Linked DNA regions of Homo sapiens: all the other regions are linked to region 2. The links are contacts of gene promoters, found by promoter capture Hi-C in blood cells and fetal thymus (Javierre and others, 2016). All regions are on one chromosome and are shown on one strand. Each heading gives the region's core, a stretch centred on a gene start or on the middle of the fragment in contact. The rest is flanking DNA. Distances are from core to core; before and after follow the strand shown.

What was found. Contacts are between HindIII fragments. The CHiCAGO score rates a contact against its expected background, and 5 or more counts as called.
Region 1: a contact is called between a fragment that was not itself captured here and the fragment with the promoter of MMP20 in region 2, in 2 of 17 cell types (non-activated CD4 T cells and M2 macrophages). The highest score is 7.0, in non-activated CD4 T cells.
Region 3: a contact is called between a fragment that was not itself captured here and the fragment with the promoter of MMP20 in region 2, in 5 of 17 cell types (activated CD4 T cells, naive CD4 T cells, naive B cells and 2 more). The highest score is 7.3, in activated CD4 T cells.
Region 4: a fragment that was not itself captured here is called in contact with the fragment with the promoter of MMP20 in region 2 in 6 of 17 cell types (non-activated CD4 T cells, total CD8 T cells, total CD4 T cells and 3 more); the score reaches 6.7 in non-activated CD4 T cells.
Region 5: a fragment that was not itself captured here is called in contact with the fragment with the promoter of MMP20 in region 2 in 2 of 17 cell types (non-activated CD4 T cells and naive CD8 T cells); the score reaches 5.5 in non-activated CD4 T cells.
Region 6: a fragment that was not itself captured here is called in contact with the fragment with the promoter of MMP20 in region 2 in 15 of 17 cell types (M0 macrophages, naive B cells, naive CD8 T cells and 12 more); the score reaches 13.4 in M0 macrophages.
Region 7: a contact is called between a fragment that was not itself captured here and the fragment with the promoter of MMP20 in region 2, in 11 of 17 cell types (activated CD4 T cells, total CD8 T cells, naive CD8 T cells and 8 more). The highest score is 10.4, in activated CD4 T cells.

Annotation. Positions count from the first base shown.
Region 1 is chr11:102,166,627-102,169,974 of GRCh38, forward strand. The region is part of intron 3 of YAP1 (Yes1 associated transcriptional regulator); the gene reads left to right. Among named protein-coding and RNA genes, the nearest start is that of YAP1-DT, 58 kb to the left of the region's middle. The HindIII fragment of the contact is 2,512 bases long and covers 640-3,151 here.
Region 2 is chr11:102,623,964-102,627,635 of GRCh38, forward strand. MMP20 (matrix metallopeptidase 20) reads right to left here and starts at 1,369. Exons shown (of 10, transcript NM_004771.4): 1 at 1,231-1,369. The coding sequence starts at 1,356. The HindIII fragment of the contact is 723 bases long and covers 836-1,558 here.
Region 3 is chr11:102,182,520-102,186,078 of GRCh38, forward strand. It overlaps YAP1 (Yes1 associated transcriptional regulator), which reads left to right. Exons shown (of 9, transcript NM_001130145.3): 4 at 3,499-3,559. Among named protein-coding and RNA genes, the nearest start is that of YAP1-DT, 74 kb to the left of the region's middle. The HindIII fragment of the contact is 1,161 bases long and covers 1,721-2,881 here.
Region 4 is chr11:102,211,235-102,215,058 of GRCh38, forward strand. The region is part of intron 6 of YAP1 (Yes1 associated transcriptional regulator); the gene reads left to right. Among named protein-coding and RNA genes, the nearest start is that of YAP1-DT, 100 kb to the left of the region's middle. The HindIII fragment of the contact is 2,317 bases long and covers 127-2,443 here.
Region 5 is chr11:102,231,901-102,235,313 of GRCh38, forward strand. YAP1 (Yes1 associated transcriptional regulator) reads left to right here. Exons shown (of 9, transcript NM_001130145.3): 9 at 1-1,524. Among named protein-coding and RNA genes, the nearest start is that of BIRC3, 84 kb to the right of the region's middle. The HindIII fragment of the contact is 4,148 bases long and covers 1-3,413 here.
Region 6 is chr11:102,265,777-102,269,096 of GRCh38, forward strand. All of the region lies in intron 1 of LOC105369460 (a long non-coding RNA gene), which reads left to right. Among named protein-coding and RNA genes, the nearest start is that of BIRC3, 50 kb to the right of the region's middle. RefSeq lists a silencer at 2,973-3,082. The HindIII fragment of the contact is 2,043 bases long and covers 489-2,531 here.
Region 7 is chr11:102,248,195-102,251,905 of GRCh38, forward strand. No RefSeq gene overlaps it. Among named protein-coding and RNA genes, the nearest start is that of BIRC3, 67 kb to the right of the region's middle. The HindIII fragment of the contact is 8,205 bases long and covers 1-3,711 here.

The sequences.
Region 1 (3,348 bases), core at 646-3,145, 460 kb before region 2:
AGGGAGTGTCTTCTGAGTCTGCTAACCCGAAGCCTTCACATAAAAGAGAAAGCTACACCGTGCTTTTGAAGCACTCTACTGGGTTAATCATGCTAAATGCAACTTGATTTACATTTTTATTACTCATTATTTAATAAGGACTTCCTCGCTTTGCTTTTTTTTGAAAAAGAATTCCCATCATTCATAATTGAGTCCAGCTTCATGTTCTGCTCTGAGATCTTGTTCCTCATCCAACTGCTTTCCTTAAGATACTGTAATTTCCTCTAGACTCCCCAAACCTGTTTTCTGCATAATTTTCATGGTTGACTAGGATGAAAGATCTTTTAAGATTCTTTCCAATTCTTAAGATTTTATGAAACTCTATTTTGTTTTCTAATTGGCTTTAGCAAAAATGATCAGTATAATTATGCTTTTATAAGTCCTTTTTCAAAATATGAGGTTGAAATGGTAGATACTACATATAGCCTAGAGACCAGTGGTTTGTGATTGGGCAAATTTCCAAATATCTATAACTGAGAATCACCCAAAACAAAGATGCACCTGGAAAAGGTTCTAGAGGCAACACTCAATACATCCTTGGAAGAAGATTAATTTATATTCTTTAACTGTGCCATTTAAGTGGCAGGGTAAATGACAGCAAGCTTTGTGAAAGAATTTGAAAGGTGAAGAAGAGGAAAATGGAAAAATAAGAGGAAATGGAATAATGTATTAAGATAATGGTTGTACTTTACTTTATATTAAAATATTCAATGTATAAATATATGTATAAATAAGTCTAGTCTATTAAATTACTTGAGGTGAATGTCCTTTGAAAGTTAAAATTTATAGCTGGGTGCAGTGGCTCATGCCTGTAATCCCAGAACTTTGGGAGGCCAAGGTGGGTGGATCATGAGGTCAAGAGATTGAGACCACCCTGGCCAACATGGTGAAACCCCGTCTCCACTAAAGATTTAAAAATTAGCTGAGCATTGGTGGTGCACGCCTGTAGTCTCAGTGACTCCGGAGGCTGAGGCAGGAGAATCACTTGAACCCAGGAGGCGGAGGTTGCAATGAGCTGAGATTGTGCCACTGCACTCCAGCCTGGTGACAGAGCAAGACTCCATCTCAAAAAAAAAGTCATAATTTATAAGGCTGGGTGTGGTCGTTCATGCCTATAATCCGAGCACTTTGAGAAGCCAAGGTGGGAGGATTGCTTGAGCCTAGGAGTTCAAGACCAGCCTGGGCAACATAGGGAGACCCCATCTGTATTAAAAATAAAAATAAAAATTAGCCAGGCATGGTGGCCACACACCTGTGGTGCTAGCAACTTGGGTGACTGAGATTGGAAGGATAGCTTGAGCCCACGAGGTCAAGGCTGCAGTGAGCCATATTTGCACCACTGCATTCCAGCCTGGACAACAGAGTGAGACCCTGTCTCAAAAAAAAAGTTATAATATAAATTAGTTATTATATATAATAGCCTTTTGATGCCTGCTTAGGATCCGTAGTTTTTCTCCCCATATTGAGAGTTAGGTAAACATTTCATGATTTTTGTGTTCAGCATTAGAAAAGAAAGCCCTGGGGAGTGAAAAGTGATACTTCCTTAGCTCTATGTGTATGATATATATTAAATTTTTAAATAGTGTACTTGTTAACACTGATCCACAAGATTGCTGAATCTTCAAGGGACAGTAAAGTCAAAGTATATTCTGTGATAATCCAGAAATAACTGTATGACAAATGACTAGGATCAATAAAAGTTATGTCTTGATTTATATTAAGCAGAATCAACCCATTTATCTGCTTTTGAGAAATGTACATTTGATAACAACCCAAAGCCTAAATGTCTTATTACAGGTACATTTTAGAGAATTCATTATTTATATGCTTTAAAGTTAGAAATTGTTGGGATTTATTTGACAGTTCCCAACTCTACCAATGTAGCACTTTCAGATTTCTCTATTATGAAAAACTGTGAGGATTTCCTAGGAAATACCTCAAGATGGGTGGAGAAAATGCCCTCTTGATCATGAAAGGTGATACGTGTTAGAGGAATGTGCTAAGCACCTTCCTTGAAGTGGGGAAAAATGTTCAGAAGCAAGCAAAGTGAGTAGTATAGAGCTGCCTTAAGGTTTGCCTCTTGTGTTCTCCTGCCTGCCTGTGTAATATCTCTCAGCACTGAAGATCAAATGAGAGATTGTTACCAAGAAAAATGAGAGAGCTAGAAAATAGATGTGAAATATAAAAATGATGGGTAAATTACACATTGATTTAGGTTTTAACTTTAAAAAGCACAGAGAGGGTAAAGATGTGAGAAGTTGCAGAACCAACAGGGTTGAGGTGTTGGTAATTCCTGCTTTATGTGCTGTAATTCAGAAACTTTAAAGTTTTACTTTTCACCTTTGAAACTGAGAGACAGTTTACATTAAGGGTTAAGACCAAGGGCTCTGGAAATCCCATGGACCTGATTTGAATCCCAGGCGTCATCTATTGTCCATGAAATCTTGGACAAGTTACTGTATCTACCTGTATTCTTCACTTAGAAAAATGAGATAATAACTCATAGGGCTGTTGTGAGCATTAAATGACAGAATCCATATCACATAGTTAAAATGTATTATTAATAGTGTACAGTGCCTGGTATAAATGTGATAAAATAAATGTGATCTGATATTTTAGAATTTAATCAGTTTGTAATACCTGGTAGCCACTGTTACTTTGTTAAAAATCTGTTACCACACTATCTTTGAAGTTATGTTTATCTCTGTAGGCTTTTTATCATCAAATTGAGGTCATTGGCTCTTCCAAGTAGTTGGTTCCTGATTCTTCTAAAAGTTCTGGATTATTATAAGATGGAAATTGTCAGTCTGAAGTCACAATATATGGGAAAAGACTATACTAACGGGAAACCTAATAGCAGTGAACTATAACAAAGCCCAAAGTCAGAGCAATGAAGAGATAGTGTATTTGACTAGTTACTCTCGGGCTTGTATTCCAAATACCTTTTTTAAAAACTTTTAAAATAAAAACACTTATTTTTTTTGAACAAAATTGCTGTTTTCTTTTTCCCATCTAGAAGTTCAGGTAAATTAAGAGAAATGGCCCTATAAAATGGAAAAATAGTATAAGGAAAAGCATAATAATCTGGAATCAATATAGCCAATCCTTAAGAAGCTTGGTTTGTTTTATATAGCTTGTGGCTTGATTTATTTGATGATTAAGTTCCTGAAAAATGATAATATGGAAACAACCACCATTTTTCTTACTTAAAACTATGGCCAATCCATTTCATTTTAATAAAATATGCCAATATGGAATATGATGACTTAAATTTTTTCTTTTTGAAATAAAAAAAGTAATTCAGTTATA
Region 2 (3,672 bases), core at 119-2,618:
TTCATCTAAAAGTGGGCTAAAGTCAAAAGAAGTTCAGTTCAACATGGTTGTGCTGGGCATCAGCTGTGCTGTTCATCTGCGGGGCTGATATTTAAGTGTTTAATGACTGGTATGGCCGGGGAACTGACCAGTTAATAAGGATGAGTGGCAGAAACAATCGGTAGGGACATGCCATTGCACATGGGTGCAAATCAGCTCTACGATGCAGACAGCCAAGCGGTACACAGGTGCAGCCTGGCAGTCAGGAAAGCAGCCCTGAGGCGGAGCTGGTGATCACAGATGTGCTGTAATGTTGGCAGACTCTTGAAAGGGAGGCCTGTGTGCAAAAGCATTTCCTCTATATATCTTTCACTAATGTTGGAAATTCCATCCGTAGACATCCATTTCTTTAGGTTAAGGATGCCACCCTTCTTTTAAAAACAAAACACGCTTGGAAGCATATATATATATATATATATATATATATATATATATATATATATATGTAGAAATCATTTTGAGTCAAGCAGTCTTTGTGAAATATTTGAATATGGATCATTTCTATCAGACCCTTTCCAGCAGTCATAGAGGAGAGATCTCAAAAGAGGAAAATACACAAAGTTTAAGTACATAAACGTTGTACTTTGTACTTACTACATAAACTTTGTTATGTACTTTGTACATAAACTTTTACTTCATTGGGGAATATGCTTTAGGGAGAAAAGGCCTTCAAATGAGAAGTGGGTTGGCACCCAGGAAGAACTTAGTCCACTTTAAATTTTGATCAGGGTTACCTTGAATATAAGAGCCATTTAAAAAGTGGAAACACAGGAAATCTCCTTGTTGTGACCGCTAAAGCTTAGCACTAAATTCACAACCTGCCTCTAGCGTGTGGATTATGCCTCGGTTTTTATTTTTCTGCTTCTATTTTTCCTCCTACATCATTCCCGGGAAGTACTTGTTTGCTCCTTTTATATTGCATGGTTTTCACAAGCCACCTGGAATTCTTTATGAAGCAAGATAGCTAGGTAGATATATCCTCATGTATTTATTCAGTCATGTAACATGGTACACCTAATATGCACCAGACACCAATCTAGGTGGACAGAAGATAGCATCAGTTAGACTTCAATGGACTTATATAAAATGATTTTAAAAGAACAATAGAATTTTTTTCTTATTTTCTCACTATGCCCTTTTAGGTTTTCTAGGGCAGAGGAGCAAGAAGGAATTGGGCAAAAATTCACAAACCTGTGCGAGGCGGTAGTTGTTCCTCCAGGTCCTGGGGGAGGCTGCAACTAGGGAGGGGGCTGCAGTGGAAAACTTCAAAGCCATGATGAGGAAGACAGCAAGGCCAGATGCAGGGAGCACCTTCATCCCCTCACAGTAGCTTGGTAATTATATCAGCCTGGGGGATGGCAGACAGTGCACGTTTGCACTTCGACCTTGAGCTCCTTTTATAGAGTCAAACAGGTCTGGACCCTCCGAGCAAGGATGATTCATGTCTCAAACAGTAATTATACAGCTCATTTCTCTCCCTGATGATGGGGTAACACAACTGTACACAGGAATCAGGGAAAGCTTCATATTTTTTTTGTTATTTACCAAGTGGCAAAAGGAGAAAAACAGTCACTTTTAATGAAGTTGGTCAGCTAGTTACAAAAATTGAAGTAAACTTGATTGATTTGAACCCAACTCAACTGAAACATTTGATTAGTCTTCATTTGGGGGCCTTTTTCCATTCTGATTACAGAAAAGTTAGATGATTACAGTATAATTGAATTTGTCCTCCAAGTAATCCCAAACTCCCCATGCATTCAACCCAATCGCCTGTATCTCCTGCATTCACTTCAAAATTTCTTAGTAGCAACTGCTGTTCATAATGATGGCTCTGAGACACATAAGATCCTGAATCATCAAGGCAAGATTACATTATACTGTGCTGACTTAGGGTGGAAAGTGAACTGGTAACTGTTAGAAAGCTTTTGGATGAATTAAGGCAAGAGTTACGTCTTCGTTAACCAAAACAATAGCCAGAACTCCCCAATCTCTGTGTACTCTGGTTAATTGGAGTCATATTGTTTTTCCTGGGTCTGATTAAGATGGATTTGGATCCAGAGATGATACGGTGAAATGGTGTCATATGGTGGGAAAAGCACTTAGAGTCAGACAAAGCAAGACTAAATATTTAAAAAGATATTTCCTAGCTGTGTGATGTTGGGTATGTCATTTAATCTCTGAATATCAAGTTTTTTTTAATCTACAAAAGACTGACAATACTACTACTATGTATAAACTTTTCAGTGTTATGGAGTAACACATATAGCATGACATCTGCAAGCACCACTTGGCATCCACTAGATGTGGATTCAAATCCTAATTTTGATTTTAGACTAAATTCAAGGTTATTCCTATAGTGAATACAGTGAATTCCTATAGTCTTTCTCACTCTGTTGCATTTTGATATGCTTTCTTTGCATGGAAGAGAAGATGGTGGAGTTACAGCCAATGTTTGGTATCTAGTGTACAACCCCAGGCACTGAACAAGAGTTTGTCACACATTAATATGGTTTGGCTCTGTGTCCCTAACCAAATCTCATCTCGAATTGTAATCCCCATGTGTTGAGGGAGGGAGGGGATTGGATCATGGGGGTGGTTCCGTCATGCTGTTCTCATGACAATGAGTGAGTTCTCACAAGATATGATGGTTTTATAGGTGTTTGAAAGTTCCTCCATTGATCTTCTCTCTCCTGCTGCCTTGTCAAGAAGGTGCCTGCTTCCCCTTTGCCTTGCACCATGATTCTAAGTTTCCTGAGGCCTCCCCAGCCATGTAAAACTGTGAGTCAACTAAGCCTCTTTCCTTTATAAATTACCCAGTCTCGGGTATTCCTTTATAGCAGTGTGAGAATGGACTAATACACACAGGCAAACAGAATTTCTGGCATGTACTGTGAGATAGACAAAACATGTGTCTCAGAAGAAGAAAAAAGAAAACCACAGATTAGATTCATTCAACTAAATTGTAAGCTGTTTGAAGACTGTATTCTAAAAAATGTTACTTAATCAAGTTTGTTAAAAAAAAAGAATGAATGAATGTACAAACATATACTAATCATTGCTTTTTGGTTTCAGGAAAGGAATAGGATATTGCAATAATTTTTCAAAATTTGCATTTATATGGTCTCCTGTCTTCTAGAGCCTTATCTTCAACAGCTGCTAAAATTGAAGAACAAAAAGAATCTTTGAAACTTCCCTTCAACTGGTCATCCTCTTCCCTTTTTCTCTCCTTTAAACACTGTTCCAATTCATTATGATGGCCCCAAAGCAAAGACAGACATGGAAGTGAACATTGGAGTGGAAGGAATGACGGTAAGAAATTCTGGGACCAATAGAGAGAAAATATTCTCACCTCTAGGACTCTAAAGAGTATTCTAGGTTCTGTTTTTGGAAGCACATGGAAGTTAATAATTGCCTATAGGGTGTGATCTACATACTTATAGAAGGTTCCAGTATCCACTTTTCTAACACACAAATGCAATCAATCCCAATGTTCCTAAGTGCAACATTTTAATTATCAAGTGCAAAAATTTTGAAGAGGAATAACAATTTATGTTCTTATAAGTCATTTATATATTAGTGTGACTAAATTTCACCTCAGAGTCAGCACTAGGCAACATCTTTGACCTTTCTAGA
Region 3 (3,559 bases), core at 1,051-3,550, 440 kb before region 2:
TTTAAGAGAATGACTTGGAATCCTGCATTGAGAATCAAGTCACTGAATTTCTTCTAAGGACCACTGGACTAAAAATTCTTTTTTTGTGAATAAAGCCTTTATCTGTATTGTTCCATTAACACTGGAAGAATTGTTTCTTTTCAGTTTTCTCTATCTTAATTCTATGACAAAGATAGTGTGGTGAAAAGTTATTTAAAGGTGATCTTTTCTAATCTATTCCTTGCCTTTGGTGCGCAGCTTTCTTTCAGTACAAAGAAAGTATCCTATTTTGGGCCATCTCTTTCCATATAACATTATATTTTACCCAGAGAGTATTAAATGAAAGATAAAATGAATATAAAGTATTATTTTGTATTTGGTATATATGTGTTGGTATAAATGTTAATTGCAAATAATATAGGTTCTACATGATTTTAAGCTTACAGAAAGTTCAAAGTATTACTTAAAAGGCAAGACATTGATTCTTCCATCAAACATTTATTGAGCAGCTATTCAGGTATTAGCCTACAAGCTTGTAAAGAAGAATGACTTGATCATTGCCAGGAGAACAGATATGTAATCAAGTAATTACAATTCTACCTGTTAAATGTGCATGGAGAATGGAAGAGGAAACTAATTTCTGTCTGAGGTAGTATGGAAAGGCTGAATTAAAGAAGTGACATCTGAGCTGTCTCTTGCAGGATGACTAAGAGTTTAGGAGGTAGGGGATGCAGAGTATTTGTGATAATGGGAACGGCATATACAAGGAGATGGCATGATTTTATGGAAAGTTGGTGGGAAAACTGGGTATCTGAAGAAGACTTCAGAAATGAATCCAGCTAGTAAAGAATTTAGGCATTTTCCTCTTGATGGAGAGCAATAGGAATGTTCTTTAGTAAGAATGAATGACATGTTTAAAAGATGAATCGAAAATATTTTAAGAAGAGAAACCCCTGGTGACTGATAGAGGACCTTGGAGTGAGAAGAGATGACAAGCCAGTTACTGAGGAAGTGGTCAAAAAAGAGAGCTGGTAAGTATTGATGGCTGAGTTCTCTGAGATGGACTGTGGCAGACCCATCGGAGAGAATATAAGTGGAATTTACAAAATGAAGTGAGTGGAGCAGGTAGGGAAGGTTGGTTTGTATCCTAGGTATCTCTTGTGGCTCTCATTCAGACAGCTAAGGTGGGGAATAATGCTGTTTCTGTGTGTGTGTGTGTGTGTGTGTGTGTGTGTGTGTGTTTAAACCACATATATGAAACCCATATATTCAAGCAGGCTTGAAAGCTACAATGAGGGCCGGGCGCGGTGGCTCACGCCTGTAATCCCAGCACTTTGGGAGGCCGAGGCGGGCGGATCACGAGGTCAGGAGATCGAGACCATCCCGGCTAAAATGGTGAAACCCCGTCTCTACTAAAAATACAAAAAAATTAGCCGGGCGTAGTGGCGGGCGCCTGTAGTCCCAGCTACTTGGGAGGCGGAGGCAGGAGAATGGCGTGAACCCGGGAGGCGGAGCTTGCAGTGAGCCGAGATCCCGCCACTGCACTCCAGCCTGGGCGACAGAGCGAGACTCCGTCTCAAAAAAAAAAAAAAAAAAAGAAAGCTACAATGAGATCTTGGGGTTGTTGAGTTGAGGCTCCCAAAGGCATTCAGTGATTGCTATTGACTTGTTCATCACCATGTATAGTCACATGGTATTTTCAGTGCCTAAAAATTTTAAATACAGTTAGTTGTTTTGCAAAAGCTTTTTATAATTCAGCCATTTTACAGTTAAAGATAGTAGCAAACCATTAATATTCAGTTTTGGAGTTCTGTCTTTCTGGGGAGGAAATAGAGCCCAAAATGACAGTGAAAGCTGGTGAGAAAAGGTTTGATATACATGTGATAAACAGGTTTGCTTCTCATTCAGCCTCTGGTAAACTTGGGATGTGTACAACAAATTCTACCTCTGGACTTGGTTAGTAGTGTGTACTACACATCCAGGACTGAAGGGGAGCCTTCCTAAGGATTCTAGGCATGGAGAAAACTAATTCCACACGTCTGCATTTCCTAACAGGATTTTACCCCATCAAAGTAGACCTTTGAAAATGCAGCTGCAAATTGATCTGTTCCTAATACGAATGAAACTGGCCTAAAAATAGGACTTTGGGTCCCATGGGCCTTGTGTGAGTGGTCAGTTTAACCAAAGTTACTTATTCAGCATCACCCATGAGACTGGTGTGGACTGCCAATACAGGAAGAAGGGAATTGTTCTATTTGTGCATAGGAGGGATACTTAGGCTCTGGTCATCTGTGGGAGATGAGTGAAAAGAAGTATAGTTGTGAAGAGCAGTCAGTGGGTTAGGAATCACGCTGCCTGGCTTTGAGTACCATTCCTGGTACTAACTAGCTTTGGGATCTTGTACCAGACTGATCAACCTGGCACTTTGTGCCTCAGTTTCCTCATTAGAATAAGTAGTACTACTGCTTATGTCATTTGTTTACTGTAAGAATTAAATGAATTAATGTACATAATATATAAGAACAATGACTAGCACAAGATAAGTGTTCAATTCATGTTAGTCCACAGAAGAAAAGATTTTAGCCATGTACTGACCATCCCAGTTTGTATCTCCTGCCCTGCCTCTTTTGATTCCTGTTGGAAATGGGAACTGGGGGAGTTGGGAGGGACAAGGAAATCAGGAAGAATTATGTTTGAATACTTTAGTTATTTATTCTGGGCCTCTCTTTTCATTGCTGTTACCTCCCAAGAGCAATTGTCTTGACTTCTCTATTCCTATAAAGATAGGAAAATCCTTTTAGAGTTAACTGTATTCTTTAGTCCTATCTCTCAAATGATGTTCCTTAAAGTTTGCCTTCCAACAACTTTAGCACTTATCTTGCCTCCTCCCAAGCCTCCAACAAGCTTAAACTTCAAATTGCAACCCCAACCCATTAGCAATTTCTGGTCTGCTGAAAAATAAGCTTTGTTTGGACTGTAGCTTTCTGTCTTACAGTTTTCTTGGTGTGAGCCACTCACATAAAACATGGAAATAAATAGAGCTTGGCTGTCTTAGCTAAAATGTGCTTTATATTAAATAGAATGTTTATGATATTTTCAACGTTCTAAAAATACTTGCATGTATTTCTTATTAATGAACCTTGGTGTTCCTAGGAAGGTATTGTCACAAAACTGATTGGATTGGGTGGTAGTTTCTGAGCTGCAAGCTCTTCCGTGTCTTATGTTAACAGTAATAGTAATTATTTGGGCCATGACTTCCAAAAGGATTTTTTGGAAAAAAATTTTTTTTCTTCATCTCTGTGTTGAGGAATATTCATTTTATTATTTGGTGGTTTCTTTTTAGTGGAGAAGAAGCAGGTATATAGGTTTACCTTTCTTCTCTGAACACAGCCTTAAATATGTTTCAATGAATTGTTTTATGTTAAGATGTGTTTTCTTTTTAAATTAGTACCCCCTCCCACTTTTTTTTAGGTGCACCAAATAAAAACCATGATTTTTTTTTTTTTTTCTGTATTATAGGTCCTCTTCCTGATGGATGGGAACAAGCCATGACTCAGGATGGAGAAATTTACTATATAAA
Region 4 (3,824 bases), core at 35-2,534, 410 kb before region 2:
TTCTTCTTGATCTTTGTTTCATACTTGAATAGAAAAGTAAATCTTTACTGTTATTAAAATTATCAGGAATTCTTAGATTTTTTAAAATAGTAAAGTTTTAGAAAAGGTGAGGCTTATTAGTAGTAAAGCTTCTAAGATACGAAGATTAGAGGTAATTACTCAGATTTGCCCAGACCAGAGCAAAAAACTTGAAAGAGGTTTTTAAAAATCTTCTTTGCATATGCTGGAGATTAAAATATTGGTTTGTTATATATGCTTTAGTTGTCAGTGTTTAATATTTACCTGGCATAATTGTGGAAAGTTATCAGTAAATGTATGAAATTCAAGTATAGGGTTATATTTGAAATAGATCAAGAAATCTGGTGGTATTTGTATCAAGAAAGCATGTGTATATTTTTCTCATCCTATTATTTTCTAAATAACCTTAAGGTAGATGTCAGGAAATAGATCACAAAGAAGAGTCATGTCTTTTCTTCTTTTTTTTTTTGAGATGGAGTCTTGCTCTGTCACCCAGGCTGGAGTGCAGTGGCGCAATCTCAGCTCACTGCAACCTCCACCTCCCAGGTTCAAGCAATTCTCCTGCCTCAGCCTCCTGAGTGGCTGTGATTACAGGTGCCTGCCACTACGCCCAGCTAATTTTTTGTGTTTTTAGTAGAGACGGGGTTTCACCATGTTATCCAGGATGGTCTCCACCTCCTGACCTCATGATTCGCCTGCCTCGGCCTCCCAAAGCACTGGTATTACAGGCGTGAGCCACCGCGCCCAGCCAGAAGAGTCATATCTTAAGTGAAGATGGCTTTAAATAGTGTTTCTCAGAATAATCAAGAAAGCTAGAAAGGACTTTTCAGCCCCAAAGAACAGAGGGTATAAAGACATCACTCAGTATCTGAACACTAGACGCTGTTGTAAAGTTACTGGGTTTTTAACTTATACTTTGTAATAGATATTAATGCAGCTGAGTTAGCAAGCAATAGTGAGATCAGTGTCATTTTCTAATCGTATACCTCATATGCTGTGGGATGTGGAAAGCCACTAAACTTCAAAATGCTTATGAATTACTACAGAAGCTGTCTTTAAGTACTTCCTATAGGATTTAACATATCATGTGGCTGTTGTAGGGTGCTGTGCTCGTGTACACTAACGTCAGTATGGGTGAGGTTAATGAAAAATTCCAAGATCCATGGCCCAAGTGATATTGAAATGTAAAATTTTGAAAAAACTTTAAAGGCATTTATATATCTTCTTAGTTAAATATGGAAATTATCACCTTAATTTATTATACTATGTTGGCAGGATTTTGGAAAAATTCATCCTTACAGAGCTTAACTTTTTATTTTTATTTTTATTTTTATTTTTATTTTTATTTTGAGACGGAGTTTTGCCCTTGTCGCCCAGGTTGGAGTGCAATGGCATGATCTCTGCTCACCGCAACCTCTGCCTCCCGGGTTCAAATGATTCTGCCTCAGCCTCCCAAGTAGCTGGGATTACAGGCATTCGCCACCATGCCCGGCTAATTTTGTGTTTTTGGTAGAGACAGGGTTTCTCCATGTTGGTCAGCCTGGTCTTGAACTCCCAACCTCAGGTGATCTGCCCACCTCGTCCTCCCAAAGTTCTGGGATTACAGGCATGAGCCACCACACCCTGCCAAAGAGCTTAACATTTTAATTTCATTTTGGTTACTTATGATTTTTATGTTTCAAAAGCAATTTCCATTCTCAGAAGAAACTTTCTGAAACTGTAAACATCTTTGCTTTGTGAGATTGAGCAGTTAATGCTATTTTCTAGTCATATCTCTGTTACACATCAGTGCTCACTTGTAAATTGGAGAGACCTTTTGAGCAAGTGGGTTTAGGAATGCACTCTAGCTTCTGTTTTAAGGTCTTTTGAGAGAAGAACTTTGAGGAAAGATAGTCCCCCCTGAGGTGCGAACACTTCTACCTTCTCTTGTGCTTAAGAATATGGTTCTTGGACTGGGGGCGGTGGCTCACGCTTGTAATCCCAGCACTTTGGGAGGCCAAGGCGGGTGGATCACCTGAAGTCAGGAGTTTGAGACCAGCCTGGTCAACATGGTGAAACCCGTCTCTACTAAAAATACGGAAATTAGCTGGATGTGGTGGGGCGGGCGCCTTTAATCCCAGCTGCTCAGGAGGCTGAGGAGGGAGAATCGCCTGAACCTGGGAGGCAGAGGTTGCAGTGAGCCAAGATCGTGGCATTGCACTCCAGCCTGGCGAAAAGAGCAAAACTCCGTCTTGAAAAAAAGAAAAAGAATTTGGTTCTTAATATCTGGGGTTCCCTAGTACCTATGAGATCGAGTTTAAACTCTGCAACTGGCTCATGGTCTGTGGTCAGTAGCCTTTTCACTCACTGGTTCCAGTTAAGCCAGTAACTCTTCCATTATTAGCTAAGTGTACTCCACTGCCTTGTTGCTGTTATTCTGCTCACAAGCTTTTCCCCATAGTGAGAACCTTGCTTATCCCCTTTCTTACCAGTAAAGATTCTTCATTTCTGTTTTAAGGCTTAGGGTGAGATTCATTCCCAAGTGCCCTTATGAGAATTCTTGAGGCAGGGCACAGTGGCTCACGCCTGTAATCCCAGCACTTTGAGAGGCCGAGGCAGGCAAATGACCTGAGGTCAGAAGTCCGAGACCTGCCTGGCCAATATGGTGAAAGTCCATCTCTACTAAAAACGGAAAAATTAGCTGGGCTTGGTGGCATGCACCTGTAGTCCCAGCTACTCAGGAGGCTGAGGTGGGAGGATGGCCTGAGTCTGGGAGGCAGCGGTTCAGTGAGCTGAGATCATGCCACTACACTCCAGCCTGGGTGACAGAGTGAGACTCTGCCTCAAAAAAAGAAAATTAGAGAATTCTTGAAACTACCCAGAAATAAAAACAACACTGCTGTATAAAGATGTCTTAACTCAGTAGCCAGTATAATTCCAATTTAGGTGGTCAAAAGTATGATATGGGGTTACTTTCATTTCTGGGCAAGTAATTGCTTCAATCTGTATAGAAATTACAGTATAAATATTTGGCAACTACTGAATAATGTGTAGTTGCCATTCCTTATAGGTGGTAATGAATAGACACCAAGGTCAGTCCCTGGTTTAATGAATAATAAAGCCCACAGTATTGCTGATGAGGATATTATACTGCACCATTACCTCTCAACAGTGAAGAGGTTCAGATGTTCACAGTTGTAGTTAATGAGAACAAAATAATACCATTGTTCAGAGCTATATGAAAACAATTGCCAACAACCATTTTTTTCCTGAATTTAGTAAAAGTAAAGTATTTGGCTTTTTTCCCTTCAAACTGTCTTTCATGTTAGCTGTTTCAAAATCCTGTTAACACTTGTCTAACGTTATCTTTCTCTTCGAAGTTCTGATATTAAATAAATCATAGATTTATTTGAAGGTTTTCCAATGAATATATTATATTTTATTTTTAATGGGTACATTGAAAACTTTATATAAGAGGGAAGATTTAGTCTCACACCTCACATACTTTTAACTGGTTATTTCATTTGTTTTATTAAACTTGCCTCTTCCTTGTTATTTGAACAGTGCCATAATAACTTTGAGACCATGATTGAGTAATACAGATTACAAAAGGCCTAATTCCAGAAGTCTATCAGAAAGAATGTAGAATCCTAGGATAATGCTAGGGAACACCAACCTGCCATCCTGTTTTGGATGTGATTTTTCAGAGTTTAAGATTATCATCTAGTTCTCATAACTGTCCCCCAATCCATGTGTATACTTTTTTTAATCAAAAAAGTTGTTCTAAAGTTAAAACTGCTTTGGTAAATGGCATAAACATTAAAAAA
Region 5 (3,413 bases), core at 176-2,675, 390 kb before region 2:
TAAGAAGTTTTATTTTAAGTACTTTCAGTGCTCAAAAAAATGCAATCACTGTGTTGTATATAATAGTTCATAGGTTGATCACTCATAATAATTGACTCTAAGGCTTTTATTAAGAAAACAGCAGAAAGATTAAATCTTGAATTAAGTCTGGGGGGAAATGGCCACTGCAGATGGAGTTTTAGAGTAGTAATGAAATTCTACCTAGAATGCAAAATTGGGTATATGAATTACATAGCATGTTGTTGGGATTTTTTTTAATGTGCAGAAGATCAAAGCTACTTGGAAGGAGTGCCTATAATTTGCCAGTAGCCACAGATTAAGATTATATCTTATATATCAGCAGATTAGCTTTAGCTTAGGGGGAGGGTGGGAAAGTTTGGGGGGGGGGTTGTGAAGATTTAGGGGGACCTTGATAGAGAACTTTATAAACTTCTTTCTCTTTAATAAAGACTTGTCTTACACCGTGCTGCCATTAAAGGCAGCTGTTCTAGAGTTTCAGTCACCTAAGTACACCCACAAAACAATATGAATATGGAGATCTTCCTTTACCCCTCAACTTTAATTTGCCCAGTTATACCTCAGTGTTGTAGCAGTACTGTGATACCTGGCACAGTGCTTTGATCTTACGATGCCCTCTGTACTGACCTGAAGGAGACCTAAGAGTCCTTTCCCTTTTTGAGTTTGAATCATAGCCTTGATGTGGTCTCTTGTTTTATGTCCTTGTTCCTAATGTAAAAGTGCTTAACTGCTTCTTGGTTGTATTGGGTAGCATTGGGATAAGATTTTAACTGGGTATTCTTGAATTGCTTTTACAATAAACCAATTTTATAATCTTTAAATTTATCAACTTTTTACATTTGTGTTATTTTCAGTCAGGGCTTCTTAGATCTACTTATGGTTGATGGAGCACATTGATTTGGAGTTTCAGATCTTCCAAAGCACTATTTGTTGTAATAACTTTTCTAAATGTAGTGCCTTTAAAGGAAAAATGAACACAGGGAAGTGACTTTGCTACAAATAATGTTGCTGTGTTAAGTATTCATATTAAATACATGCCTTCTATATGGAACATGGCAGAAAGACTGAAAAATAACAGTAATTAATTGTGTAATTCAGAATTCATACCAATCAGTGTTGAAACTCAAACATTGCAAAAGTGGGTGGCAATATTCAGTGCTTAACACTTTTCTAGCGTTGGTACATCTGAGAAATGAGTGCTCAGGTGGATTTTATCCTCGCAAGCATGTTGTTATAAGAATTGTGGGTGTGCCTATCATAACAATTGTTTTCTGTATCTTGAAAAAGTATTCTCCACATTTTAAATGTTTTATATTAGAGAATTCTTTAATGCACACTTGTCAAATATATATATATAGTACCAATGTTACCTTTTTATTTTTTGTTTTAGATGTAAGAGCATGCTCATATGTTAGGTACTTACATAAATTGTTACATTATTTTTTCTTATGTAATACCTTTTTGTTTGTTTATGTGGTTCAAATATATTCTTTCCTTAAACTCTTCTTTGTTGTTTTTAACAATTGATATTTGAAACTTTTTTTTTTTTTGGCTTCTTACTGGTCTTCCAATAGAACAAGAACTGGCAATAAAAGGTGATTACAGTAGTAACTGGGAAGACAAGTTAAACTTAAGTTTCGTTGTGCTTTAAGTTAGGCTTGACATTTGGAACTTTTGAAGTATGGATATATAATTCTTTTAACTTTGTGTTCTTACTCTTCACATACACCATCCTCATCCGTGGTAGTGTCTAAGCAGAACTGCGTCTGCTTGATTCTTAAATGACTTCACTACATGTGACGGCACAGAGGACACTGAGAACATAAGAACATGGCACTGTCTTTCAGAATGGCCTTTGGTTTTACTTCTTTAATATATTCTCTCAGGCCAGGCGTGGTGGCTCACGCCTGTAATCCCAGCACTTTGGGAAGCCAAGGCAGGCGGATTACCTGAGGTTGGGAGTTCAAGACCAGCCTGACCAACATGGAGAAACCCCGTCTCTACTAAAAATACAAAATTAGCTGGGCGTGGTGTCGCATGCCTGTAATCCCAGCTACTCGGGAGGCTGAGAATATATATATATTCTGTTCTATTTTGGAGGTCATGAGAGAATATTATATATTAGTAAAAAGCATTACTTACTGGCTTATAAATAAAAACATTCACAAATTGAAGTGGTAGGTCCTGACCTTTGAATAAGAAGTAGATTTGAGTATCTTTAAAGATGGCTGGACGTGGTGGCTCACGCCTGTAATTTCAGCATTGTGGGCGGAGGCTGAGGCGGACAGATCACCCGAGGTCAGGAGTTCGACAGCAGCCTAGTCAACATGGTGAAACCCCATCTGTACTAAAAATACAAAAATTAGCTGGGCATGGTGGTGCATGCTTGCAATCCCAGCTACTTGAGAGGCTGAGGTGGGAGGATCACTTGAACCCGTAAGGCAGAGGCTGCGGTAAGCCAAGACCACGCCACTACACTCCAGCCTGCGTGACAGAGCGAGACTCCATCTCAGAAAAAAAAAAAAAAAAGATTGATTTCTGTGTTTGCGTGTATAATAGCTTCAATTATTGACACATCTATTTTGGTGAGGCAAATCTGAAAATGCTTCATATTTTACAATATATAATTTCTTTATGTTAGAACACTAATTTCGTGTAGCTTGAAATTGATTATTTCCTTTTTGTAGTTCAGATATAGTGGTGGTACATCTTGGCTCAAAACCATACCTTGTGTCTGTAGACACTGTGCTTGTTGCTCCACGGTGGTACACTTTTTGTCAGATGGTGTGAAGCCCAGTAATGTGAATCTGCCTTCATTCTGGATCTCTGAACCAGAATTGTACCATCTTTAGTTAACTCTGAGTTTAACAGAATACTCAGAAAAATGTATTTAGATTTGGGAATAGCCTCTAACGAGAACAAGGAGGAACATTCCAAATACTTGAGAAGTATAGTAGTCATACTTAAAACATGATTTACATAATGTTTTTCTTAGACCCCAAATTAAAGTTCAACAGCTCAGTAAGTGAATTGCTCAGCTGCAATAAGCAAGAAAACAGTCTTCCAGAGGGAGGGGGAGGGGGAGAGAGATCAGTAACTACTAGTGAAAGGAAACCTAGGTGACTACTGCAGAAGTGATCGGTAGACTGGGGGTTTTGTTTAATTCCCCAACCCCGATTTCCATTTCTTGACAGCTGAGGTTACAAAAGAAAGGCAGCCCCAAGGAGCTGATGATGTTTTCTTACCTTCTCTAATGGCAGCCAGACTCTCCCTGCTTCTGTAATCATCAGTTTTACTGACAGAAAACCTGGCTTTATTGCGGGTAAATTCCTGGCTCCGGGGTTCCACATGTGCTAACGCTGTTGGAATCAACAGTAGCTCTGGCAGGATGTCTG
Region 6 (3,320 bases), core at 260-2,759, 360 kb before region 2:
TTAGGTTAGAGAGTATCTTAAACTTCCACCAAACAATCCTGAAAAAACGAAAGGGAATATATATCCTGAGGGTGAGAGGGCTGTTGGAGAGATGATGCTGGCACTGCAAACAAAAATTTCTTTAGAATTTGCTGTTTGATCTTAAAAATTCATATACATGTTGCATTCTGTTTGGTTTTTAATATAAAATATTTTAGGCTAATCACCATTCAGCAAAATTGATTCTCCAAAAAAACTGCATCCCTGTTAGTCTATGATTTTGCAAAGTCTATAGGCCATTGCTATGGGAATCTCTGAGGGGGCTGTACTGTCTGTCATTTGAGAAGCACATGAAAAGCAATTAGCTCATTTCCAAATGTTGTATATGAAAATATTGTGACTTTTGTAAAGCGTATTCAATCATTTAGCCAAATATTTTAATAGCCTGAAGAATCCCAGGGAATATAAAGTTAAACTTTGGCCTGTTCTGTTCTCAGTTGAGCAGATGAAGCTTTGCATGACTCCTTTCCTGCAGGAGATGCTTAGTTAAATCAGAGGCATTGCTCATTCTAAAAATTTGATCCAAATCTAGAGTTAGTGTTAAATGACACCATATGTTTCCTTTGGTTAAATAAGGTCAATAAATCATGTTCCTTTTTGTTTCAGAAAACTGAGATATTTTAGTCTATTCATGTTGAAAGAACACTAATTGTGAATTTAAAAAACATGAAGGGGTTGTGGGGCTCTAAAAAACATGGAGGGGGAGCGTGGCCCTAAGTCTGTACTTGGCCTGATGGTCTTATCTTCAGAATTCTGGGGTATATGAGGTATTACTATAAAGATACAGGTCTGCTTCAAAAAACATATATCTTATTTTATTTTATTTTTTAGAGATAGGGGCTCTGCCGGGTGCAGTAGCTTATGCCTGTAATCCCAGCACTTTGGGAGGCCGAGGCGGGCGGATCACGAGGTCAGGAGATCGAGACCATCCTGGCTAACACGGTGAAACCCCATCTCTAGTAAAAAATACAAAAAGTTAGCCGGGCGTGGTGGCGGACGCCTGTAGTCCCAGCTACTGGGGAGGCTGAGGCAGGAGAATGGCGTCAACCCGGAAGGCAGAGCTTACAGTAAGCCGAGATCGCGCCACTGTACTCCAGCCTGAGCGACAGAGCAAGACTCTGTCTCAAAAAAAAAAAAAAACAGATAGGGGCTCCCTGTGTTGCCCAGACTGGTCTCGAACTCCTGGGCTCAAGGGATCCTTCCACCTTGCCCTCCCAAAATGCTGGGATTACGGGTGTGAGCCACTGCGTCCTACCACAAGTATGCTTTGCTTTTGTTTCTTTTTTTTTTTTTTCCTTTTTTAACTTCTTATTTAAGAAAAAAAAGAGAGAGAGAGAGAGACGGGGGATCTCACTTTGTTGCCCAGGCTGGTCTCAAACTCCTGGGCTCAAGCAATGCCCACCTTGCTTTTCTTATGGCTTAAAGTAAGTAAAATAAAATGCTTTGAGAAATGATGGCATTGTTAAATAAACATATAACAAGAAAAGACAATACTCACTTGAATATACAAGTTAAAATTTAAAAATCATCAGTAACTAAATGAACATCAGAGTTAAGCACGAATTCCTTCCTTCAAAAAATGAAAAATCTCATTTTCATTTTTTGAATGAATACTCAGGCCTCTTTGATTATTATAACGATCCCAAAGTCCCTATACTACTCAATAATTATTTTGCCTGAAAATATGTGGAGGAGGAGGGGATTAATAAAGATAAAAATCTCTTAATTGAATATAAACAATTTAACTGTTCAAGAATTCCCCAAGTAAATTTTATCTACATAGTGTGGGTTAAATGTGGGGGGAAAAGGGATGGTAGATGCAAAATGCAGTTATTTGCTTCAAAAATCTATCTGTGTGAGTAGCTCCAATGTATAAAAGATCAAATGAAGAAAGTTTTACCGGCTTGTTTCCAATGCCTCCGACTTATCTGGGTGGATCTTCCCCTCTGACTCATTCTGGAACAGTCCTCCATAAGTCAAGGAGACAGTTTACAAGCTGGGGAGGTTTCCCTTCATAACGGCTGAGGGAACTTATTCTCTCCACAACCACGGTTCAATGTGTCAGGTACTGACATAAGGAAAGAATGTCTCTGACCTAAGGAATTCATAATCTAATAGGGGAGACGGACAAATAAATAGGTAAGTTTAAAAATGTCAAGTTCCCTGTCAAGGTAGAAAAGTATAGGGTGTCTTGGAGCACAGAAGAGGGTGTCCAGAAAGGCAAATGCAGATCAGATACAGAAGCAAGGCGTTGGGGTCCAAAATGCCCAGGTGGATGTCCTGGTCGGATCTCCAGAGTCCTACAGAGGACTTCCTCCACACAGGGCGGGTCAGTTTCAACCCATGGGAATGAAAGGGGGGGAAAACATGGAGAGCAGCTTCCAGCGCAGGGGGAGGAAAACATTCCCCAAGGAAATACTAGATTCCTGAAATATGTCCAGCCCTTGTGGAAAAGATGTAGTTCGGGCTGCAATTCGAGCAAACTTCGGAGAAGCTTCAAAAGCTCCGACTTGGCAATTCAACTCAAAGCGCTCTTCCAAGCTCTTCCTATTCAACTGCAACTTCTAAGGCAAAGTCATTGTTTACAGCCTGGCGGAGTTGGAAGAGTCTCCAAAAACACAACTTGCCGTGACAGTTGGAGTTTATAACCACCCTCGGACTTTAATGACAGGCAAGTCTGAGAAGCTTCCAGCACCACGGCCTGACTGACTTCTGCGGGGCTGGAGGGAACGGTGGGTCCCAGATTTGGGACCACCCTTCTGCAGTGAACACCTCCCCCACATTCTCGTTTGCCACGCCTCTAGGCCACCTGGAGCTGAAGTTTCGCTGTTTTCCACGGCATTTCCGGAATGCCAGGGCATGCCCTGTCAATCCTGCACGCCCTGCGGCCGCGCTGCTTTCTCCACCGGGGCAGCGCTGAGTAGGCGGGGCATGCGGGTGGGGCGGGGCTCCAGCCAGGGTGGGTGGGGCCTCTGCACGAACACCTGCCTGTACTTGGGCCCGGAGCTTGGATCTCTGCCCAGAGAGCTCCGGCAGCCCCAGTCATCCCCGGCAATCAGGAGGCAGCGCCGCTCGGCTGCTGCAGAGGGCGTTGCCCGACTTAGCGACAATTTTGTCCTACCTCCTCTATACACCTTGCTCAAGTGACTGGACTCTCGAGATTCAATTTCCTTATTCACAAAATGGGGTTGATTATCGTTAAATTTCACAGCTGTTTGAGGATTAAAAGAATGACGTATCTATATTGTTTATGTGCCAAGCACTGACACTTATTCATTAGT
Region 7 (3,711 bases), core at 1,148-3,647, 370 kb before region 2:
ATTTTTTATATTTTTTATTAGAGACAGGGTCTCACTTCGTCACCGAGGCTGGAGTGCAGTGGCGGGATCATGGCTCAGTGCTGCCTTGAATTCCTGGGTTCAATCGCTCCTCCCACCTCAGCCTCCCAAGTAGCTGGGAGCGTGGGTGCATACCACTGCATCTGGCTCATTTAAAAATTTTTTTTATAGAGATGAGGTCTCATCATCTTGCCCAGGCTGGTCTTGAATTCCTGGGCTCAAGTGATCCTCCCACCTCAGCCTCCCAAAGTGCAGGGATTACAGGTGTGAGCCACCGCACCCAGCCCCCACATCTGCCTTTCTCTTGCCTCCTACATTGCCACAACGATTGCCCCGAGATCTATGGGAATCACAGCCTGCTGTTGTGCAGGTACCCCTCTGCCACCTCTGGAGCCTCTTAGTGGTCCCAAGGTTGCCTCCCTCTTTGAAGAGCCAGCTCAAGGTATAATTCATTTTAGTATCATTTCTGTTTTGTTCTTACACAGATTCAGAAGATTCGTGTGTATGACATTTAAAATAAACATAAAAAAACTTATCCACATTTTGTCATTTCTCTTCATACTGTTTGTTTTTAACATTTTATTATAAATCCTCAAAATCCTAATTATCAACATACTTATTACTTATACCAGAATTACAACTTAATAAAACCAGAACAAAACCTACACTATTAAGAAATAGCAGGCTGGACGCATGGCTCACACCTGTAATTCCAGCACTTTGGGAGGCCAAGGCAGCTGGATCACTTGAGGTCAGGAGTTCAAGACCAGTCTGGCCAACATGGTGAAACCTCGTCTGTGTTAAAAATACAAAAATTAGCTGGGCAGTAGTGGTACGCACCTGTAATCCCAGCTACTTGGGAGGCTAAAGCAGAAGAATCACTTGAGCCTGGGAGGCGGAGGTTGCGGTGAGCCGAGATCACGTCACTGCACTCCAGTCTAGGTGAGAGAGTAAGACCCTGTCTCAAAAAAATAAAAATAAAAAAAATAAAAAATAAAAGAAGCCGGGTGCGGTGGCTCACGCCTGTAATCCTAGCACTTTGGGAGGCCAAGGCGGGTGGATCACAAGGTCAGGAGTTCCAGACCAGCCTGGCCAAGATGGTGAAACCCCGTCTCTACTAAAAATACAAAAATTAGCTGGGTGTGGTGGTGGGTGCCTGTAATCCCAGCTACTTGGGAGGCTGAGGCAAGATAATCACTTGAACCTGGAGGGGGAGGTTGTAGTGAGCTGAGATCGCACCACTGCACTCTGAGCTGGGTGACAGAGCAAGACTCCATCTCAAACAAACAAAAAAAGAAATAACAACAACCGTGCCACTTGAGGATAGTTATAAACTGGTGAGCCCACCAGCACCCAGAGAACCTTGTAGAGGATGTGCCATGGTGCCCACCTTGACACAGGCTGAACTCCAAAGTAAAGTGCTTGAGTTCTTCAGGGGTTTCAAGGACAGGAGCTCACTGATTTATTATTGCAATTTTCTAAATAATTAGCTTAAACAAATGGCTTACATTAGAATTTATATTATTATTTCATTTTATAACTTACTGAAGTTATACTTTTTACCAATTGATACAATAATATTTCAATATTTAGTCAATCATTCTGGTCTTCTTGGTTAACATATAAGCTGAATATTATAAGCCTAATACACTGCAAGACACATAGAAAGTGCCCCCAAACTGGCTAGTAGATAAATAACTGTATGGATGAAAATTGGTTTTGGTCCAATATTTTCCTTCCTATCATTTATTAATTTTGACATTGCTTGGTGGTGATCATTAGTGCTAAGCATAAAATATTTTCAATATTTTATTTTGAAAATTTTCAGCTCTTTGCTTTTTTAGCACATGGTGGGTGTGACTTCTCTGCCTTTCTGGAAGCCATGTGACTTGCTTTGGCCTGCAGAATGTGAGCAGAAGTGATGTATGTCACTTCTGGTGGAAACTGTACTGTTGGTGCATTGTCAATACCCCCTTGGCCTACCCAGACTTCCATTTATATTCTCTTGGCCTGTGGATATTCTCTAGCTTCAGAAGCATGACAGACCTGTGTTTGGGGCTTATCAGAACTTCCAATTGTTAACCATTCAGGAGGGACCCAAAACCACTGAGGGATGCGCTAACACCTGTGTTGGGTTTTTTTGTTTTTGTTGTTTTTGTTTTGTTTTGTTTTTCGAGATGGAGTCTCACTCTGTCGCCCAGGCTGGAGTGCAGTGGCGCAATCTCAGCTCACTGCAAGCTCCACCTCCCGGGTTCAGGCCATTCTCCTGCCTCTGCCTCCCTATTAGCTGGGACTACAGGCGCCCGCCACCAAGCCCAGCAAATTTTTTGTATTTTTATTAGAGATGAGGTTTCAACGTGTTAGCCAGGATGGTCTCGATCTCCTGACCTCATGATCTGCCTGCCTTGGCCTCCCAAAGTGCTGAGATTACAGGTGTGAGCCACCCCTCCCAGCCACCTGTGTTGAGTTTTAAAGGATGAGTAAGAGATAGCCACTGAAAGAAAAATTGTAAGGGGATTCTAGGCAGAAGGGAAATATAAGGCCAGGTGCAGTGGCTCACACCTGTAATCCCAGCACTTTGGGAGGCTGAGGTGGGAGGATTGCTTGAGCTTAGGAAATTGAGACCAGCCTGGGCAACATGGTGAAACCCTGTCTCTACCAAAAAGTGCAAAAATTAGCCAAGCATTGTATCACATGCTTGTGGTCCCAGCTATTCAGGAAGCTGAGGTGAGAGGATCACTTGAGCCAGGGAGGTCGAGGCTGCTGTGAGCCATGATCACGCCACTGCATATTCCAGCCTGGGCGGCAGACTGAGACCCTGTCTCAAAAAAAAAAAAAAAAAAAAAAAAAAGGGAAATATAAGCAAAGACTGAGTACAGTGAAACAGTATGGTTTTTTTTCTGGGCTGTCCAGCAAGAGGCTGGAAGCAGCAGTGGCTGGAGATAGGCAAAGGCACACAGGTTACAATGTGGAGGATGGCTTGAAGGAAGGACAAGTCTGGAAGATTAGTTAAGAGGCTGTTGCATAGGCCAAGAGAGTGATAATAAGGACCTAAGTGGGTCCATGGTAGTAGAGATGGTGAAAGGGCTTGAATCTAGAAATAATTAGCAGGTATTCACAAACTTGTAATTGATTGGAAGTGGAAACTAAGGGAGATGAAGTCATCTAGGATGATGCTGGATTTCTAATGGATGGTGGTGCCACATAAGGGAGACAGGAGGAGAAACAGATTCAGGGATATGGTAAGTTCAATAGACTTGGTGAGATCTTTAGATCACAGATCTAATCATATTACTTTCCTATCTTATACACTTGAGTGGCTTCTCATTACTTTTAAGATTTAGTCCCAAACCCTATATGATTGCAGGGCCTTGTAAAATCTTGTCCTTTCCAGTTCTCCCCTTCACTTCCTCTTCTCCAGCCATGCTGGCTTCTCTGTTCCTGAAACCTGCAAACTCTTTTCTATCTCACAGCCTTTCCTCATTCTGTTCCCTCTGCCTGGAGGACAGTTCTCCCAATTCCCCACTCATCCTTCAGGTCTTAGCTCAAATATCATTTCTTTAGGGAAAACTTCGCTGAGCCTCTGGTATAAACTAGACCCCTGGCACGTGCTCTCAAAGCCCCTTGTACTCCTCTTTGTTGTACTTTTCATAATCCTAAGTAAAAAATTGATGTATTGGCTGGGTGCAGTGG